Linked DNA regions of Homo sapiens: region 1 is linked to region 2. The links are contacts of gene promoters, found by promoter capture Hi-C in blood cells and fetal thymus (Javierre and others, 2016). All regions are on one chromosome and are shown on one strand. The core of a region is centred on a gene start or on the middle of the fragment in contact, and the rest is flanking DNA. Distances in the headings are between cores, read along the strand shown. Region 1 holds the start of H1-5 (H1.5 linker histone, cluster member). Region 2 holds the start of TRQ-CTG1-2 (tRNA-Gln (anticodon CTG) 1-2).

What was found. Contacts are between HindIII fragments. The CHiCAGO score rates a contact against its expected background, and 5 or more counts as called.
Region 1: the fragment with the promoter of H1-5 here is called in contact with a fragment that was not itself captured in region 2 in 1 of 17 cell types (monocytes); the score reaches 5.2 in monocytes.

The regions. Positions count from the first base shown.
Region 1 is chr6:27,865,924-27,872,677 of GRCh38, reverse strand. H1-5 (H1.5 linker histone, cluster member) reads left to right here and starts at 5,090. Exons shown (of 1, transcript NM_005322.3): 1 at 5,090-5,886. The coding sequence starts at 5,149. The coding sequence ends at 5,829. H3C11 (H3 clustered histone 11) reads left to right here and starts at 332. Exons shown (of 1, transcript NM_003533.3): 1 at 332-833. The coding sequence starts at 363. The coding sequence ends at 773. RefSeq lists enhancers at 1,498-2,135, 2,136-2,775, 4,831-4,900, 5,161-5,270. The HindIII fragment of the contact is 3,270 bases long and covers 2,836-6,105 here.
Region 2 is chr6:27,515,222-27,521,546 of GRCh38, reverse strand. TRQ-CTG1-2 (tRNA-Gln (anticodon CTG) 1-2) reads right to left here and starts at 2,018; the gene lies at 1,947-2,018. RefSeq lists a silencer at 1,936-1,985 and an enhancer at 2,376-2,665. The HindIII fragment of the contact is 2,065 bases long and covers 597-2,661 here.

The DNA of each region.
Region 1 (6,754 bases), core at 3,841-6,340, 350 kb before region 2:
TTTAACTTTTTGTCAAATCAGTAATGACACCTCGTAATTAAAATAGTGCAAGGCAAGTTTAGATTTATCAAGCTTATATTTAAACAGGATTTTGATGCATGAAAAATCCTAGACTTTTGGGGGATTTTTTTTTGTTTCCGTTTTTGTTTTTCTTTAGCTAGCAAAACCATTTTACGTTTCTTGACCCAAAACAGAGGCGGAATGTCTCCCTTTCACTAGCAGATTAAACTGGGAGCCAATTCCGTGTGTGAGACGTGGCATGGCACAGTCTACTGTCCAATCAGAACGCGAGGGCAGCTATAAATACCGGGATGATCAGTTTTTTTCTCTCATTTGTGTTGAGTAGGTACGTCTACTTAGCCATGGCACGAACAAAGCAAACAGCTCGCAAGTCCACCGGCGGCAAAGCGCCGCGCAAGCAGCTGGCCACCAAGGCGGCTCGCAAGAGCGCTCCGGCCACCGGTGGCGTCAAGAAGCCCCACCGCTACCGCCCCGGCACCGTGGCCCTGCGCGAGATCCGCCGCTACCAGAAGTCGACCGAGCTGCTAATCCGGAAGCTACCTTTTCAGCGCTTGGTACGGGAGATCGCACAGGACTTTAAGACCGATCTGCGCTTCCAGAGCTCGGCGGTGATGGCGCTGCAGGAGGCTTGCGAGGCCTACCTGGTGGGGCTATTTGAGGATACCAACCTGTGCGCCATTCACGCCAAACGCGTCACTATTATGCCTAAAGACATCCAGCTTGCGCGCCGCATCCGAGGGGAGAGGGCATAAATATTCCTATCAGCCCAAGAAGTCTGTCCAACCCCAAAAGGCTCTTTTCAGAGCCCCTCAATTGTCACCAAAAGGAAGCTGTAGCTTTTGAGACGTGTCTTAGCTCCATGTTAAATACAAGCTGTGGACAAAACGTGGTAGTGGCCCAACACACTATAATGCAGGAGTCAGGTCACAGGCTGTTGGTATGCTAAATCAATTTCACATACAGAACCTGTTCCTACTGATAAGGATTATCACTCAAAAAAGACATGTCATGGGGTCAATTTTACAGATGAAGTTTAGTTTTGAAAAGTATTCCTGTTTTTATCCTTGAGGAATGTGTCTCCTGCGTATCTACCTGCCCCTACTGAAGGGAACAAGTAGCACAATGAGTGTCCACAGGCTCTGGTGAGGCCGAGGCAGGCGGATCACAAGGTCAGGAGATCAAGACCATCCTGGCTAACACGGTGAAACCCCCCTGTCCACTAAAAAAAAGACTGCCGGCCGTGGTGGCACGCGCCTGTAGTCCCAGCTACTCGGGAGGCTGAGGCAGGAGGATCGCTTGAACCTGGCAGGCAGAGGTTGCAGTGAGCCGAGATCGCGCCACTGCCCTCCAGCCTGGGCTACAGAGCGAGACTCCGCCTCAAAAATACAAAAAACAACAGGCTCTAAAAACTACACACATGAGAGTGGAACAATAGACAATAAGGACTCAGAAGGGAGGAAAGAATGAATGATAAGTTACTTAATTGGTACAATGTAAGCTATTTAGCTCTTGTATAGCCCATGTAACTTGACCACCTTGGAGCATATGCACATAACAAAGTTGCCATCGTACCCCATGCAAGTAACAGTTTTGACAAAAAGCTCGACACTTTTGTTCTGTTTCAATGTAATGTTTAGCAAGCCATGTGTTAGGTAGTGGGCCTCTGAGGAGGGATACTTTAACCTACTGCATGCTGTCATCTATGAAATGAACTTCTAGCTCTAAGTGGACCTTAAAAAATATTTTCCTGTCATTTCACCATATGCTTGTCATAGACTGTGGAGTTGGATTTTCATGAGATTTTTTCTTTCTTTTTTTTTTTCAGAGAGAATCAGTCTGGGTATTAAACTTCAAGTGGTATTTTAAAGCTCTTCCTGGTTTCTAACCAAACTTTTCCATTATTTCCAGCTGTTTTAGAGTTTCCTCATGTGCTCTACATATGTGACTATCATGACCTCATTTTGCTCTTAAACTTTTTGAAGCACACATCTTGACCTAGGAGATATCTGGCAGAGATGTGAAGGCAATTTTTCTCCCTAGTGCTCTCAGCCAGCTCAGCCTCATATCTGTGCCTTCCTTTCTCATATTGGATTCACTCTTGCAAAGAGGCATGTATCCCAGCAACTGGTGCAGCGGTGTCCGATCTTTTGTCTTCCCTGGGCCACGTTGGAAGAAGAATTGTCTTGGGCCACACCTAAAATACAGGATCACTAAAGATAGCTGACGAAAGAAAACAAAGGAAGGAAGGAAGGAAGGGAGGAAGGAAGGAAAAAGGAAGGGCGCAGTGGCTCACATCTGTAATCCCAGCACTTTGCATTTTGGGAGGCCGATGCGGGCGAATCACGAGGTCAGGAGTTCCAGACCAGCCTGGCCAACATGGTGAAGCCACGTCTCTACTAAAAATACAAAAAATTAGCTGGGCATAGTGGCAGGCGCCTGTAGTCCCAGCTCCTTGGGAGGCTGAGGTTGCAGTGAGCCGAGATCACGCTACTGCACTCCAGTCCTGGTGACAGAGTGAGACTCTGTCTCAAAAAAAAAAAAAAAAAAAAAAAAGGAAGGAAGGGAAAGAAAGAAAAGTCTGTGCATAATTTTTGTGATATCCACCATCACAGATGAACAAAAAAGTCCTCACATTCAAAGGGTTGGATACAGGTATAAAGTTTTTGGAAACTTAAGATTTGATTCAGAAAAACAAACAACAAAAAAACACTTTTGATCCATGGGGCCAGAAGCCTCTTCCCACAATTAACTTAGAGCTCTTTTAGTGGCTGTTTGCTAGGTGTAGGAACAACTTGACACTGCCTCTTCCAAGCTTTGAAGATAGTTCTCTTCTCACCTCTTCAAGGATTTTCCCTCCATAATAGAGCTGAGGCCATGTTTCTAGGTTTAAAATTTAGAGCTGCCACTTCATAGCTGTATAACCTTTGACAAGTTATTAATTCTCTATCTGGGCCTCATCTTGTATAGCTGTAAATGTAGCAAATTAATAGAAACCTGTAGAACATATTTAAGATTACTTCCTGTCAGGTAGTAAATGCTGAATGAGTGTCAGCTCTTATTGTTATACCCTGGCTCCATTACACATGGAGTTTTGGGGTTTTTTTCTCCTGGACCTTCTAAGTTTTGTGTTTGGAACAGTGGAAAGTGCTTGGTTAGATCATTTGCTCATGAAGATCTCCTTTTCTTTAGTTCTCAATTTGCATTGTTCGGTAAGAGGCCTATACAATATCTGTGTCTCTGTGGAGAAATTTATAACACAGCAAAAGGGCTAGGTAATAAATAGCTTAGGGTTTAAAGGCCATATATAGTCTCTGTCACACACTCTTTAGTTTTTAGTTAGTTTGCTTTTTCGAGACAGGATCTTGCTCCATTGCCCTGGCTGGAGTGCAGTGCTGCTATCATTGCTCACTGCAGCCTTGACACCCTGAATTCAAGTGATCCTCCCACCTCAGCCTCCCGAGTAGCTGAGACTACAGGCATGTGCCACCACATCCAGCAAAATGTTTTGTATTTTTATTAAAGATGGGGTTTTACCAAGTTGCCCAAGCTGGTCTCCAACTCCTGAGCTCAAGCAACCCACCTATCCCAGTGTCCCCAAGTGCTGAGATTACAGACATGAACCACCGTGCCCAGCCTTTGTTTTTGTTTTTTTTTTTTTTAACAATACTTTTAAAACATAAAGACACTTCTTAGCTTGAGGGCCATACAGAAAAAAGCCATTGTCCAGATTTGGCCATAGTCTGCCAACTTCTCCAGGAGTTCTTAGAAGATGAAGTGCATTGGCTACTTTAAATTTTCTTGCACAGCATTTCAAGAATGAGAAATAAGTGACTGTTGATTTCATTAGGAATCCAAATCATCATTTGATCATTTTTATCATCCAGGCATCCTGTCCAATCCCCTCCACCTCCCATAAATTGTAAACTTCATTTATTTCAACCTCAGTGTATTTGCCTATGTTTTCCTGAGTTCCTCTGAACCTCTATAATGTGAAGTCGCTCAATATCCAATCCAACCTTTTCACAGTCAATAGCCAGATATTCTTCTAAAATATTAGCGCTAAAACACACAAAAATACCCATATTGATGTATCCTGGCTGCTCATAGAAGAGAGTATTCCTGATGGTGCAGCTTGTTAAATGTGGGTGGAGATTCAGGGGGAGCAGTGAGAACATTTCGAAAACCTGACAGTGTCCTGGGCCACCTAAACAGTTTGTGCATTTGAGGATCACTGGGAGCTCTTGAATAATTTTCCACAAGTTTGAGTTTTCTCTAAACTGAATTATCTATATTATTTTTCTTCCCCTTTTTTAATGGATTTGCCCAGGAACTAAAAAGAGAAAACACTCTAATTAGAAAACATAACACATTTAAGTTTGAATGTGAATCTGAGTAGTTAGATCCTTAAGTCAAAGCGATTTGTATTACTGGTGCTGCAATGCAGAAGAAGTCACTCTGACTGTGGAACTCTTCCAAGCTGCAAAATCCCATTCTGTAAAGACATTAGCACATGGAAACTCCTAGGACACAGAACCAGTTTGTAAAGTCAAGTCTATGTGGTTAAGTTGGGGCTGTAGGCAACCAGCTGTCCTGTGCCTGTGTTACTTGCTACAGTTAGAAACAAACTTCATGCCCAAACCAAGGAACCCAGTGTCTTTTCTCTTGCAAAAATCAAAGCATGAACTCATGGGCAAATTTTTAAAAATAACTTTCACTGGATACTTAGTAGAAATTTATCGCGACACGCTACTAACTAACATGATGCCCTCAGCCCAATGGATTCTTATGAAAAGCTGAAGGGATTTTTTAAAATATCTTTCATCAATTGCACAAGATTCTTGAAAACACAAACAAGTATGTGAACCTGGAGGCTGTTTTCCTCCTTTGGAGCTTCAAAGTGCCAAATTCTGTACCATTGTTTTAAGCATTTAATCAAATTTTGAGGACTAACAAACACAATTTGGGAGTCCAACCGCGAGCGGCGGCGGCCAGAGGGCGGTGGATTGGACGCTCCACCAATCACAGGGCAGCGCCGGCTTATATAAGCCCGGGGCCCGAGCATAGCAGCAACGCAAAACCTGCTCTTTAGATTTCGAGCTTATTCTCTTCTAGCAGTTTCTTGCCACCATGTCGGAAACCGCTCCTGCCGAGACAGCCACCCCAGCGCCGGTGGAGAAATCCCCGGCTAAGAAGAAGGCAACTAAGAAGGCTGCCGGCGCCGGCGCTGCTAAGCGCAAAGCGACGGGGCCCCCAGTCTCAGAGCTGATCACCAAGGCTGTGGCTGCTTCTAAGGAGCGCAATGGCCTTTCTTTGGCAGCCCTTAAGAAGGCCTTAGCGGCCGGTGGCTACGACGTGGAGAAGAATAACAGCCGCATTAAGCTGGGCCTCAAGAGCTTGGTGAGCAAGGGCACCCTGGTGCAGACCAAGGGCACTGGTGCTTCTGGCTCCTTTAAACTCAACAAGAAGGCGGCCTCCGGGGAAGCCAAGCCCAAAGCCAAGAAGGCAGGCGCCGCTAAAGCTAAGAAGCCCGCGGGGGCCACGCCTAAGAAGGCCAAGAAGGCTGCAGGGGCGAAAAAGGCAGTGAAGAAGACTCCGAAGAAGGCGAAGAAGCCCGCGGCGGCTGGCGTCAAAAAGGTGGCGAAGAGCCCTAAGAAGGCCAAGGCCGCTGCCAAACCGAAAAAGGCAACCAAGAGTCCTGCCAAGCCCAAGGCAGTTAAGCCGAAGGCGGCAAAGCCCAAAGCCGCTAAGCCCAAAGCAGCAAAACCTAAAGCTGCAAAGGCCAAGAAGGCGGCTGCCAAAAAGAAGTAGGAAGCTGGCGTGTGAAAACCGCAACAAAGCCCCAAAGGCTCTTTTCAGAGCCACCCAGAGACCTCTAAAAAATGGCTGTGCACAACATGTTAGATCAGGCAGCAAGATTCCTTGCATTCGAAAAATCTCGGGCAGTTCTCCCTCAACCCTAATCGAGTAACGCAAGGCAAGCAAGAGTCCAGGGTGTTGGTTGGACTCCCCACGTAGTTTACCCATGCAGTCTGTTATTAGAGTATGAATTCCAGCCGTTGGTTTTTGTTAAGTTGGTGTCAAGCTTTTTGTCAGACGCCTAGCTACAAAGAAGCTTCTTATATTTTAAAAAGCCCGCTCTATAATCTGATTGGCCAGTTTTTGTTCCATCATCTGTATGTGGTTTTTCCGCGTTTAAGCCATTTAGGCACCAGCTACTTCGGCGTCACTAATGTGTTCGGCATTAATATAATATGCTATCAACGCACAAGACAATATAGTAGCAAGTTTCAAGATGGGGTCTCTATTACATGCCAATTTGATATGACCGTGTCATTCTGTACTGGATTATTTTTTTTTCCTCAAGTCAGGTTCTCGCTGTCACCCAGGCTGGCGTGCAGTGGCGTGGTCTCGGCTCACTACAGCCTCAGCCTCCCCGGCTCAAGGGATCGTCCCACTTCAGCCTCTGTGAAGTGCTAGGACTAAAGGCGTGCACCACCCCGGTCGGCTAATTTTTGTATCCGCTATGATGCCCAGGCAGATCTCGAATTCATGAGCTCCAGCGATCTTCCCGCCTCAGCTTCCAAAAGTGCTGGGATTACAGGCGTGAGCCACTGAGCCTGGCTCTGGATTTTTTTTTATTGGTTCTAGTTCATATAACACGAGATGAATAAACACAGCGAACATTCTTGTAAGCCCTACATTAAATAACTAGTTCACATTCTGACTTAAACAT
Region 2 (6,325 bases), core at 380-2,879:
CCAATGAACTGTGCATCCTCAATGGTTCTGTGATAACTAAATTCCTGCTATGGACTGAATGGACTCAAATGCATATGTGGAAGCCTCTCTCTCTCTGTTTCTCTCTCTCTCTCTCTGTCCCCCCAGTATGTGAGGATAGAGCAAGAGGACAGTAGGCTGCAAATCAAGAAGGGAGGGCTCACCAGACATTGAATCAGCTGGAACCTTGATTTTGGGTTTCCCAGCCTTCAGAATTGTGAGAAATAAATGTTTGTTGTTTAAGTCAACAAACATTATATAGTTATAGTAGTCCAAACTGTCTAAAACAATTTCTTAGGCTTCTATGTAGCTAGGATGGCACGCATGTGCCCTAAGTTTTCCAATCAGATGTATTTCTTCTTTCAGAAGAAACATGTATATAAACAAGGGAGAAAAACTCCAAAATTATGTATTTTATCATGATGCATCTTTATGCAAGTATAATAAAGTCTATGAAGAAATGTTTAGAAGCAAATTAGGTCCATCTAAATTAAAGGTAAGCATCTATTTTCTTGCAACATTTGCCTTGGTAAGGGTAATGAATAGATATCTGCTAAATGCAGGTAGATATTTAAGCTTTTAGAGGCAGTGGTGGCATAAGGCCTAGCAAAGGCATTCCATGCTGGGGAACATAATGCTGCTAGCAGTTAACACTAGAAAATGCATGAGGAATCAGAAGGAATGGGTAGTACAATATAAAAGGGCAAATAATCATTATGTGTGGAAGCATTTGGAAAATGAAAATGACAATTCAAAGTTATAAATTCTCCATTAAATGTATGGTTGCAGAATCAGGAATTTCCTCTGCAGTAAAATAATTTTTAATTTTTGTGACCCAAGAATTGCCATAATTCAAAATCAAATTTATATTATAAACATCTCTTGGTTTCCCATTAATGGAAAGATGAATGAATGAGCTGTGGCATGTTCATATTACACAGCAGCTAACATGAAATCAATGAATGAATGGTAGCTACATACAACAAAAGAGATGATTAATTTTAGCAATATAAGATTAAATGAAAAAAGATTATAACATATAGCCTGATACCCTGTATCCACAATTAAAAGACACAATTTTATAAATACTAATAGATAAAATCAAACTAAGGAAAGCACTTTGGCCTTAATTCTTCAGAGACCCAGTAACTTCTTTGTCTTTCCTTAAGTTGTGACAAATCCAAACATTTACCAGAAAATAAACTAACTTGCAACAAGAGACATTTAGTTTTATGAAGACAAAATAATCACAGAGGCATCCTAGGATACAATTTTAAAGCTCTATCATTCTATGGGACGTATTCAGCATTGACAGCAATTCTGTGTGGCGGGTTAATGTCACAGAAATGACCAACAGAGCACTTAGAAGGTGTATCTGGATATTTACTTACCGTGTTGACAGTGATTGAAGTTACCATGTGAGGATCCAATAGTGTTCAAATACCTAAGAGAGTTTAAGCAATTTTTATTTAAAGTACAGATTTATTTTCACTAATCCTTGTTTCTCAGTGGCAAATGAAACACCTATAAATTCTAGTGATTGCACCTAAAAGGCATTATAAAGCCTCATTCTCTTGGGAAAAAGATACATACAAGAATATTTCTTTTCCCTCAAATCTGTTGAGTCCTTTTTGTCCTCTGAAGTGAATTAACTGCATTTCATAAAGCAATAAATCAAGTAAAAAGTTTAACTCAACTCGAATTATTTTGGGTATTAGAATATCTGTTAGGTGGTGGTGAGGAGGGTAGTAAAATGAAGGAGGTATGAGGGTCTCCTGCTCTGAACATAGAGCAGAGAGTCAGTGGGCCCCGTACAGAGTCCGCGTCATACTTTGGGTTCACATGAACTGGAGATTCCTGCCAATCATATCTAAGAGGGAAATTTATTTTAGAAAGAAAAAAATAGTGAGGAAGCAAGAAGAAACGACAGGTTCCACCGAGATTTGAACTCGGATCGCTGGATTCAGAGTCCAGAGTGCTAACCATTACACCATGGAACCTCGCAATAGCTCGTGTTTTTAACAGGCCTTCCTGAAGGAATATATCTTCATTTCCGAACTCAAGCTGTCTTCCCTTTAAGAACCTAAGTTTCTACCCTAATGTTCGTTATCTGCCGCCATCACACAAGTTCCCTTTTCGTTTCTCACAGGGCTCTTCGTGCAAGATCCAAGAGCAAATCTGTTTCCAGGGGCAGATAAGGTAAGTCCGTGCCTCCCCTGGACTCTTAGCAACAGCCTGCGGGGCTCCCCAGCCTCGGTTCTGCGGCCCTAAGCCGGGCTGCCCCGATACAGGGGGAGAGGGCACCAACCTAGCCGCGCTGACAGATTGCGTTGTTGGAAGAACCGCGAGGCTCGCCGCCTCCCGAGCGTTTGTCCGGCGTTCTTTGCTCCTAACGCTAGGAACACTTTTGAAAGTTCCATTTCGTAACGTATAAATTATGGATGACTTAAATTGAGGCGGCGTGTCAACTAGTCCTGGCACCCGTGGCGTTGCCGAGGGTAAAAAACAAAAAACAGGACACCAAAAGATGCTTTCTGCTTCCCGGGAAGGCTCCACCTCGTGGATACCAAAGAGTAAAGCACTGTTAAAAGCTCGAATATTTGCAAGGCAGGATTTTGTAATTAGTTTCTCACTGATAAAGCTTTAACTTGGTCTTTCTCAATGGGATTAACTGAGAACCTCTCCCAAAATATTCAGCAGTAAAAATTTACTGATACCAAGACCCGGACATGACTTGTCTAGGAGTGTTCATTGCAGGAGATAAAAGCGATCTTATGTTGTCAAACAGAAAGGCTGAGGAAGGAGGCAGAGGGTCTTTAAGAGTAAATAATCTCAGGTGATAGGATCTGAACCTTCCCAACAAGATCACATGAGAGGTATCGGCATCTGCCAAAATTACTTTATTGCTTAGAGACGTCTAGTGTCATGGACAAAAATCCTTCCTGCTTCAATGAGGCGGCACTGTCACTACCAGGTTAAAATGGGTCCCGCCCGTAGGGCCGTGGGCTCTGCGGCAGGAGCTGCAATGGCCGCTGTACAGTGGCAAAGAGAATATCCGTACATATCTCATCCAGTCCATCTTCTCCCAGCCCTATGACTTTCTGATCCACTCACTACCAGAAAGCAAGACAGAATGAAACCCTCTTACCAAACGGGATAACTAAAGGTGGTTTCCAGGAGCCTCGGGAACAAGAAGCATGAGGATCCTAAGCATTTTCAATAAAAATCTAGCCCACTGGAGGCTTTTGAAAAACTGAAGGTCCATGTAACAAATTTAAGATGAGCATTTCTAAGGGCTAGGGCTTGTACCAAGTTCTGTGCTCTCTGAAAAAAAAAATTAAAAATATATGCCTGTAATGGTCAAAGCTGAAACAATTTGAGAAACAATAAATAGAAGACTTCAAACCAATCCCTACAGCTTCCCTGATGTGCAACAAATCTCAGTTTTTCAAGGAATCTCCTGAGCAGAATTCCAGATAACTCCACCCCTTCATTGTGGGCTCTGCATAGTGATTGCTCTACAGAATACAGTATGAAAAAGGGTGGGAAAGTAAGCAGTGAATAAATCCCAAAAGCATTACACCAGCAGTGATAAGCCATGTTGATAGTATATTGTCTTGATATAACGTGATAAAAATGGCGCTTTAGGTCAAGCATGGTGGTTTATTCCTGTAATCCCAGCACTTTGGGAGGCCGAGGCAGGTGGATCACTTGAGGCAAGGAGTTCGAGACCAGCCTGGCCAACATGGTGAAACCCTGTCTCCACTAAAAATACAAAAATTAGCCAGGCGTGGTGGCAGATGCCTGTAGTCCCAGCTGCTCATGAGGCTGAGGCAGGAGAATCGCTTGAACCCGGGAGGCGGAGGTTGCAGAGAGCCGAGATGGTGCCACTGCATTCCAGCCTGCGTGACAGAGGGAGACCCTGTCTCAAAACAAACAAACAAACAAACAAAAACCCTCCACTTTACCTCTGCGGTCTTGCTCCCTCGAACCCCTAACTCCGATCTAATGATGAGAAAAATATCAGACAAATCCTAGTTGAAGGACATTCTACAAAATGCCTGCTCAACACTCTTCAAAACTGTCAAGATCATCAAAATCAAGGAAAGTCTAAGAACTACCACAGCCAAGAGAGCTTAGGGAGTCATGATGACTAAAAATAACATGGAATTCTGAATAGGATCCTGGAACAGAGAAAGGAAATTAGGTAAAAATGAAGGAAATCTAACATATTCATTTTAGTTAATAATAATGTATACATATTTGTTAATTGTTTGTAACAAACGTACCATACCAATGTAAGATTTTAATAATAAGGAAAACTGAGTGTGGGGATATATGGGAACTCTCCTTTATATCTTCCCAATTAAATGGAAACTATTGCTCACGGGAATAAGAACAAAAATGTGACCAAATGAAGTTACTTCTTCAAAATGAATTCAGAACTCTGGCTTGCAATGTGCATTGGTACAATTCTCTCCTGTTTTTGCTTAATGAGCCACATATCAGACCTAGTGGTACAGCTTGCACAGCCTACAACTGACCTGAGAGTATACGGACTTGAAAATAGGAAGGACAAATTTTTGTGCCACACCCACTGCTGCCCTTAGTGCTGTGGACACAGAATTGAGCAGGACACTAAGCACTGGCCCTGCCTGTGGAGATTTCAGTTTGTAGTGATGAGATATTGGCTAAAAACAGTGAATAAAGTAACACCCACACAGAGAAAGTTAGGGAAAACTGCAGGTGACTGGAAGCTAACAGCCTAGATAAACTGAGAAGCTGAAATAAGCTGGATATTTGAGTTTAGGCAGGGATTGAAGATGGTATTTAGAAGACGGTGTTGGCCCAAACCTTTTCACATATTGTGAGATACAAGATAAGGGCGTAGTCTGTGGACTGGTTGTCTGGGTGGCCATACCATAGTGGAAGTAAAAGAAGAGCTGAGAAAAAGTTGAAGGATAGGCTGAGACCATAGATCAGGCCAGGGCTTCAAGGTTGTTTGTTTTAGGAGCACAAGTATCTGCTTTGAACTGTAAACATCAGGGAGCAACAGAAGTGACTTTGAGGAACTTAGGAGATTCTCATTGTCCTTTTGCCCTCAGTATAACTGAACATTTCTTTGTTCCCTGCCATGCTGAAGTTGGTTCTGCACCAGGAGCTACTGGTACCAGTCTTTGGGAATTGGTTTGGGAATTGTCTTCATGTTTGCTCATAGTCATTTTATTTATTTCCCAAAAAACAAAAAGCTGATGGAAAATTCCTCTCCCTCAAATTCCCAATGTCAAGAAGTTAGTAGAGCAAAGATTTGTACAATATTTTTTTGCTCTGGACTCCAGATCATATTGAATAAAATCTAGGAAATCCCTTTCTCAGAAAGATGCCCCTAGATACACACATATACCATTTTGAAAACTATCTCAAGGTGTTCGTGAAACACTTGAGGTCCATGGATCTCAGGCTAAGAATCCTCTGCATTTGATATTCCTCTCTATGTCATCTAGCATAATTTATAACTAATAAAAAATGAATTCTATAAGCAGAAATTAAGCATCATACTACTGAAGTAAAATTGTCTTTTAATTGTGCATGAACATTTAATTAATCTTGGTCTTGTAAATTAGGTCACAGGTGCACCCAAAACAAGCCAAAATACTAGTTAAACCAGTTCTCAGAGGGCTCTTCGGGTGTATATTCCTGACAGAGCAGTTTGGGGATACTTGATGCAGACATAAGTAGGTCAGACAGTGGAGAAGAACAGGCGCATATTTATCACAGGGTTATTGGACCTCTACTGAGATAATTTGTTATTGAGAATTGTACTGGTTTCTGTTTAGTGCTGATTCTATCCTGTTCAAACAAGGAAAGTATAAACTTCAAAATTGCATTATATACATTTATTCATTAAGGACTAATTCTCAAACTTTGAACATCAGAGAGGCAGTCTCTTCCAGGTGCAACCCTCATGACTATACTATAGCTGATTTTGGACCCCATTCTCCCAAATTACTTCTTATGTAATTATTATCATTATAATAAATGTGCACAATACATTATTTTATAAGCCAAATGGATTGGCAAGATGTTTTTGTTTTGTTTTGTTTTGTTTTGTTTTCTATCAAAACACAAAGAAGCAGGGGACTGGACGTGTCAGGGCTGACTCGCGGGCTGTGTAGGGCTCAGAGGGCCAGGGGACCCGGGTCTGGTGGATGGGAGGGCGCGGTCCTGGGGCCTTGGCGGCCGAGAGTGGGAGATGGCGGCGCGATGGAGCAGCGAGAACGTAGTGGTAGAGTTTCGTGACTCCCAG